3 separate regions of the Homo sapiens genome follow, and regions 2 and 3 are each linked to region 1. Evidence: promoter capture Hi-C in 16 types of primary human blood cells and fetal thymus (Javierre and others, 2016). All regions are on one chromosome and are shown on one strand. The core of a region is centred on a gene start or on the middle of the fragment in contact, and the rest is flanking DNA. Distances in the headings are between cores, read along the strand shown.

What was found. The method cuts DNA at HindIII sites, captures the fragments that hold promoters and counts their contacts. A CHiCAGO score of 5 or more calls a contact.
Region 2: a contact is called between a fragment that was not itself captured here and the fragment with the promoter of MAP1LC3B2 in region 1, in 4 of 17 cell types (M0 macrophages, neutrophils, naive B cells and 1 more). The highest score is 5.5, in M0 macrophages.
Region 3: a fragment that was not itself captured here is called in contact with the fragment with the promoter of MAP1LC3B2 in region 1 in 3 of 17 cell types (naive B cells, total B cells and M1 macrophages); the score reaches 5.2 in naive B cells.

Annotation. Positions count from the first base shown.
Region 1 is chr12:116,558,123-116,560,634 of GRCh38, reverse strand. It overlaps MAP1LC3B2 (microtubule associated protein 1 light chain 3 beta 2), which reads right to left and starts at 1,254. Exons shown (of 2, transcript NM_001085481.3): 1 at 1,202-1,254. RefSeq lists enhancers at 661-760, 801-850, 1,071-1,410, 1,250-1,759. The HindIII fragment of the contact is 18,876 bases long and covers 1-2,512 here.
Region 2 is chr12:116,436,478-116,438,989 of GRCh38, reverse strand. No RefSeq gene overlaps it. Among named protein-coding and RNA genes, the nearest start is that of MIR4472-2, 9.4 kb to the right of the region's middle. The HindIII fragment of the contact is 5,987 bases long and covers 1-2,512 here.
Region 3 is chr12:116,453,238-116,455,749 of GRCh38, reverse strand. No RefSeq gene overlaps it. Among named protein-coding and RNA genes, the nearest start is that of MIR4472-2, 26 kb to the right of the region's middle. RefSeq lists an enhancer at 567-1,105. The HindIII fragment of the contact is 1,115 bases long and covers 696-1,810 here.

The DNA.
Region 1 (2,512 bases), core at 5-2,504:
AGCACATTAGACTGTGGACATATCTTTTCTTTTTTTGGTGGAGGTGTGACTGGGGAGACACTATTAAACCCACTACAGTGTAAAAGTAGGCCAGATGTGATGGTTCACACCTGTAATCCCAAGACTTTGGGAGGCCGAGGTGGGCGGATCACTTGAGGTCAGGAGTTCGAGACCAGCCTGGCCAACATGGCGAAACCTCGTCTCTACTAAAAATACAAAAATTAGCTGGGCGTGGTGGCGCACCTGTAATCCCAGCTAGTCGGAAGGCTGAGGCAGGAGAATCACTTGAACCCAGGAGGCAGAGGTTGCAGCGAGCCGAGAGCGCGCCACTGCATTCCAGCCTGGGCGACAGAGGAAGACTCTATCTAAATATATATATATACATATACATACATATATATATATATATATATATATATATATATATATATATATATATATATATAGCCAAACTTAGCTTTATTTCAGAGCCGTTGCTGGGCCTGGGAGTGGAGAGAGATCAGGAGAGCGCCACCAGCTTGGATCGGTTAGTGAGCTGCGGTGGTTTTTGTTTTTGTTTTTTTTTTCTTGACAGTGTCTCCTATTGTTTTGTATTTCTCTTTTGTTTTGAGGTTTTCTGCCATCTTTTCTGGAAGGTGCATGATGCTCAGCTCTGTGGTTATTTTTGCCCAACAGCTGTGTTTCCGGTGAGCGGCTGTGGGATTCTTCTGACTCAGCAAAACTGGAGCAGTAACCGTCAAGAAGCCATTCAAGCAAGGCTAGAAATAAAGAAGCTGTTTCTTCACCGTCCCCTCCTCCTCCTCTCACTTCCCTCCCCATGGGTACCTTTTGAAAGTCTCACAAAGCACTTTGAAAAAACTACTTGGACCAGTATGCTGGAGGGTTGACTGAAGGTGGCCCCTCCGCTGGGCTTTAAGCAAACAGATAAATTCTGGAAAGGACTCTGCCCTGCCAGCCTGGCTGTGGCCTTCGGAAGGCCCCTCCCAACATGCCCCCACCCGCCGATCACATGGACTGTGTCTTACAAGTTTCCCACAGGTCTGACTAGTGAAAGCAGAGGCTGTGGGGACTTTTGTGGTTTTTCTAGGGTGTGGCCCCACTTTGCCTTCACCAGGCCTGAGTATCTATGCCGTGCAGCTTGCCTGCTTCTCAAAGGTCATGATTTCCACCCTGGGGCTGGGAGGCAGCTACATATTCCTACCCGCTGGCACAGGATCTGGCCCTGCACTCCCGAGAGGTGGCTGCGAGCCTTGCGGAGGCAGAGAGAGAACAAAATGGAAAGGAATCTTCCTCCCGGAGAGCCATCTTCTGTGCATGCCGGTGCCTGCAAAAGACAGGCGAGGCGAGACAGCTGCACCTCGGGCCTCGTCGCTGTTGCTGAGAAAGAAAGGAACAAATAAATTTAGCTCCATCCTACGCATCCTTTGCAGCTGCTGATTGACCAAACAGAAAGAGGCCTCTATTTCAACCCTGGCTTCTCAGCTTTTTGCCTGATGGGGTCTGCTATCGCCCTTTACAAGGGACTTTTGAAGGAGGAAACGGGCCGTGGCCTTATTTAGCGCCTGGCCGGCTGGAGGCTGCACAGACAGGAGTTCAAGTTTAGGGTGTCTCTTCTTGCCCATCCCAAAGCAAAATGGTGGCCCGGAAACGTTTCCAAATGGGCTTCGGCTCCTGGAATTTCCAATGTATTTATTTGGAAGCCAGAACATGGTGGGTGGAGAGATGTGTAACTGTGCCGAGGCCAGCCTATAGCTCCCGAAGCCATTAGTTTAATAGCACCATTTGTGGAAATAAAGAACTCGCTGACTGGGCTTGAAGGTAAAAGACTGGAACGAAGCACTGAGGGGGTTTCGTGGGGCTCACTAGCGTGGAGAGGTCCCTGCGGGATGGGGGACAAGCTGTGTGGACTTTGAGTCAGATAGACTTGGGTTCCAGTCCTAGCTCTATCACCTAAAGGCACGTTGTCTCTGGACAAAGAGAGCCTTTGCTCTGTGATATGTAAGTGAAATGCTAGCTGTGACACTGAACCTCTCTGAGCCTCAGTTCCTTATCTGTAAAACAGCAATGATGACACGAGGTCGTCACAAGGATTAAATGACAAAGAATACTGAACCTACATAGCCCAGCTCTTGCTGTGCCATGATGGTGTAGAGTGGCCCCTGTTTGACCTGCCCAGGCCCATTCTCCAAAGAAGCTGTACAGGTGAGGTGGCTCACCCCTGTAATCCCAGTACTTTGGGAGGCCGAGAAGGGAGGATCACTTGAGCCCAGGAGTTTGAGGCCAGCCTGGGCAACATAGAGAGACCCCATCTCTGCAAAAAAATAAAAAAAATTAGCTGGGTGTGGCGGTGCACGCCTGTGGTCCCAGCTACACAGGAGGCTAAGGTGGGAGGATCCCTTGAGCCCAAGAGGTCCAGGCTGCAGCCTGGGTGACAGAGCAAGACCCTGTCTCTAAAAAAAAAAAAAAAAAAAAAAAATAGAAGGTGTTTCTTCCCCAATCCTCTCCTTTCATT
Region 2 (2,512 bases), core at 9-2,508, 120 kb after region 1:
GCACCTACATACCACCCGGAGGCAGGCCCTTTAAGACCAGTGCAGCCCGGAGCTTCTCAGTCTATCGGGCTCTTCCATGTAAGATTAATTCTTGGGCCGGGCGCAGTGGCTCACGCCTGTAATCCCAGCACTTTGGGAGGCCAAGGCGGGTGGATCACGAGGTCAGGAGATCGAGACCATCCTGGCTAACACGGTGAAGCCCTGTCTCTACTTAAAAAAATACAAAAAGTAGCTGGGCATGGCAGCGTGCGCCTGTAGTCCCAGCTGCTGGGGAGGCTGAGGCAGGAGAATGGTGTGAACCCAGGAGGTGGAGCTTGCAGTGAGCCGAGATCGCACCACTTCACTCCAGCCTGGGCGACAGAGCGAGACTCCGTCTCAAAAAAAAAAAAAAAAAAAAAGATTCTTTCTGGCAGGACTCAAATTGCTCTTCTTGCAGTCTGGCTTCTGTAGGGCTCTCCTGCAAATCTGGAAGACATGGCTCTGTGCACAAGACCCCGTGGCAGACAGGGCCTCATCTCCACCGGCATGAAAAATTGGTGATTATGAAACAAACAAAATAATAAGTGTTGGTGAGGGTGTGAAGAATCAGAACCCTTGTACATTCCTTCCATGCTGCATTCCCACGTGTTACACATGTTACACTGGTGGGGGAATGTCACATGGTGCAGTTGCCTTCAGAAACAGTTTGGGAGTTCCTGAAAATGCTAAACATACAGTTGCCCTAAGACCCAGCAATCCCACTCCCAGATATCCCAGATATACACCCGAGAGTCAAAAACATATGTCCATATAGAAACGTGTACACATAGCAAGTGTAATGTACATAGTATTATTCATAAAAACCAAAAGGTGGACGTGACCTAAATGGCCATCGTTGAATGGGAAGATGAGCAAATCGTGGCATAGCCATGCAACGGAATATGATTTGGCAGTAAAGGAATGAAGTATTGACACACGCCATGCCATGGATGAATCTAGCAACATCATGCTGAAGAAGTGAAGGAAGCCAGAAACCAAAGGTTGCAAATTGTATAATTCCATTTCTATGAAGTGTCCAGCATAGGTAAATCCATAGAGACGGAAAGCACATGAGTGAGTGGTTGCCAGGGTCGACAGGGAGAGGGGCAGGGAGGGGAGAGAATAGGAGCAGAACGAGTGAATGAAAGATAGCGGGTTTAGGGTTTCCTTCTGCAGTGACAGAAATATTTTGGAACTTGATAGAGGTGGTGGTTGCAGAATCCTGGGAATGTAGTAAATGCCACTGTGTTGTACCTTTCTGTCTTTTTTTCTTCCCCTTCCTTCCTTCCTTCCTTCTTTCTTGACAGAGTCTTGCTCTGTTGCCCAGGCTGGAGTGCAGTGGCACAATCTCAGCTCACTGCAACCTCTACCTTCTGGGTTCAAGTGACTCTCCTGCCTCAGCCTCCTGAGTAGTTGGGACTATAGACGTGCGTCACCACACCTGGCTAATTTTTGCATTTTTAGTAGAGACGGGGTTTCACTATGTTGGCTAGACTGGTCTCAAACTCCTGACCTCAGGTGATCTGCCCACCTTGGTTTCCCAAAGTGCTGGGATTACAGGCGTGAGCCACCGCACCTGGCCAACAACGGTCTATTTTGCTATTGCATTTTGCTTCAGTTTTTTAAAAAATCAGTTATTATGAATGGAGGACGCGTCAGGGAGGCAGGAAAGAGGAATGATGTCCAACTCCACCCCCAGAAATACCCAAACCCACTTTTTGCCTGGTCCTGAACCCCTTTCTCCTAATGTGTGTCCAGCTCAGAGTCAGACACATAGTAGGTGCTCAACAAGTGTTGGTTTCTCCCCCTCCCCCACACTGCCAGCTCCTGGTATAAAGGGGGAAAAAATCTCATAACCAATGTAACTGCCGCACTTGAACCTTTGGACTGAATCACATCTGCCACTTAGGGAGGGTCGTGTTTGCCTTGTGCTCGGACTGCAGCCTGCACTTTGGGCTCAGTGTTATCTGCGGGCCCTGCCAGCTTGCGAAAACCCTGCCCAGCACCAGCCCACGCAGGCAGAATTACACGTTATGCTGGGTCTCCCTGCATTTTCTGAGCTGGCATCTTAATGAACTATTGATTAGGGTCTTTCGGGCCTGGCTAGGATTCCCCTTTTGCAGAGAGCTGCAAGTTCCCCTGGTTGCACCAATCGTCCTGGAAAGGCCTGGTTCCATGGCCGCTGGCCAGAGTCTGCACCTTCGGGAAAGTTTTGTTCTCAGGCAGTTCCCGAGGCTCCCTGGGCTAGAAGCTATTCTTGGGGTGTTTAGGGGGCTGTGGGGGCAGGAACAACAGCTGTGGCTCTGCTCACCTCTGTCGCTCCCAACCAGAATGTGAGCACCTGCTGCAGGCCGGGCATGGGCTAGGGGTGGATGTAGAGCTAGATGAGTTAGCTGAATCTTACATCCCAAGGAGTTCAGAGTTGAGAGAGGAGGAGGGAGAAGCAGGCAATTGCTCCTGTAAGATACACAGCAGGGACAGCTGCACAATTTGT
Region 3 (2,512 bases), core at 4-2,503, 100 kb after region 1:
TTTCTTGGGAAGGCAGCTTGTTCGGAAGTCTGAAAAGCTGCAAAGATAGTTGTACATACAGTTCCCTCCCTGTAGCCTCTGGACAAGGTTTGGGACGGGAACAAGAAGGATGAAGTCAGCTCCCTGCAGGAGGATCTCCAGCTCCGCGTGTTCTCACTGCCAAAAAGCAGCTTCCCCGGGCCTCCCTCACTGCTCCAAACAATGTTTTTATTCATTCACCGAAAATGCATGGAGTACCTACTGTGTGCTAGACACTGACAGAGCTGGGGCAGGGATCAATGAAAAACGTGACGCCAGCCCCACCCCTTTCAGAATCTTTAATACTTAACAGCCCGCAAATAACATGAATGTGTAAAATTGTAATTTGGGTTAAGTCTGCTGAAGGAAGCAAACAGGAAGCTAGGATGAGAATGGAGGGAAGAGGCTATTTACATGAGCAATCTGGGAGGGCCTCTCTAAGGAGGTGACATTTTAGACCAGACTTGAAGGAGAAGTAGGAATTGGCTGTGAAGGGCAGAGGGAGGTGGCAGTAACTAAGGCAGGACCAGCCACACCAGGAAGAGTGACCGTCGGGATCTAAGTTCCCACCAGGGGCCTCTTCCCACGTATTTTATAGAATTCCTGGGTAGCTGACTCAGATGAGAGGGCTTATTATGAGGAATCATCGTTGTCATGAGTCTGAGCTGAGTAAAGCTTCCGCACCCTGCCACAACCATGCCAGAAAACCCTCATTTCCATTGCAGAACTGTCAGATCGGCACTGTGAAAACAAGTCAGCCAAGAGCAGAAATACCTGTAGGACGCAGAGGGGGCTCTCCCCAGCATAAGGCCATTTTGCAAGAAGCAAATAATGCTCTTAAGCAGCAGGAAGGAGAGAGGGAAGGGAGGGGAGAGAAGCCTTGGGGACAGATGTGGGGGCACTGCCTGTGGGTCAGGAGGCCAGGTGAAGGACAGGTGGGTAAGCCGTCCCCGCCCCTCCCAGGAGATGAACCATGAGGGAGTTAGGACTCTGGATATAGAAGAGAACGAGAGGCCAGGCATGTTGGCTCACACCTGTAATCCCAGCACTTTGGGAGTCTGAGGCAGCAGATCACCTGAGGTCAGGAGTTCAAGACCAGCCTGGCCAACATGGTGAAACCCCGTCTTTACTAAAAATACAAAAATTAGCCAGGCGTGGTGGCAAGTGCCTATAATCCCAGCCATTTGGGAGGCTGAGGCATGAGAATTGCTTGAACCTGGGAGGCTAAGGTTGCCTCCCATGTTCCAAGACCGCACCACTGCACTCCAGCCTGGGCAACAAGAGTGAGACTCTGTCTGAAAAAAAAAAAAAAGAAAAAGAATAGAACGAGAGCTTCTAGATCATCTGAACAATGATGGGGACACGGAGGCCCCAAGTAGAGAAGGAGCTGGCCTGAGGTGGTACGGGAAGTTAGGCGCAGAGCCCTTCCGCTCACTTGCTGTGTGACCTTGGGAAGCTCACTTCACATCTCTGAGCCCCTGTCCCCACTGTAACATGGGAAGAATGCATATAAGGCTCTTTACACTGCTGCAATATATAGAGAGGGTTGTTTTTTGACCCCTACTTCCTGGAGAACACGTTCATTAAACCATGCTGGCTTCCCATTTGTTAGTTCATTTCATACTCAGGGTGGCCCTGACAGGTAAACATGGCTGTCCATGCTTTACAGATAAAGAAACTGAGGCCAAGAGGGGTTGAGTAACACACTCAAGGTTCCACAGCCAGGTATAAGGGCCAGATCCCCACCCTACCTGCCTGACTTCAAATGGAGTCCGTGTTCCCGACAGAAGCTTGGCCTTGTCCTGGGATGCATGAATGTGTGTATGGATAATTGGTACTGACCCAGAGACACAGAGCTAGGATGGAGACAAGGCTGAAGAGATGAGAGACCCAGCTTGCTGGCCAACAGTGATGGTGTGCCAGAGGACAGAAGAGACGCCAGGATGTGGGAGAGAAGAGAGGACTCCAGTCTGCATGCTGAGTGATATGTCCAGATGCGTGAATCTTTTTTGAATCTTTTTTTTTTTTTGAGACAGAATCTCGCTCTGCCACCCAGGCTGGAGGGCAGTGGCATGATTTCGGCTCACTGCAACCTCCACCTCCATGGTTCAAGTGATTCTCCTGCCTCAGCCTCCCAAGTAGCTAGGATTACAGATGCATATCACCATGCCCGGCTAATTTTTGTATTTTTAGTAGAGATGGGATTTCACAATGTTGGCCATACTGGTCTTGAACTCCTGACCTTGTGATTCGCCCGCCTCGGCCTCTCAAAGTGCTGGGCTTACAGGCATGAGCCACGCTGCCCCATGATTCTAATTTTTATGTAAGATGCATATCTTAGGCTTTCAGATCAGAGTAAGGAAGACTCAGTAGGAACACCAGTAACTCAGCTAGAGCCAGCTGGGTGACAGAAAAAGCATCTGGATGAGAAATTAGGGGATGTGCAGGCCATTAGATCAGGAGCCAGGCATCTCAGATTCTAGAGAAGTGCTGG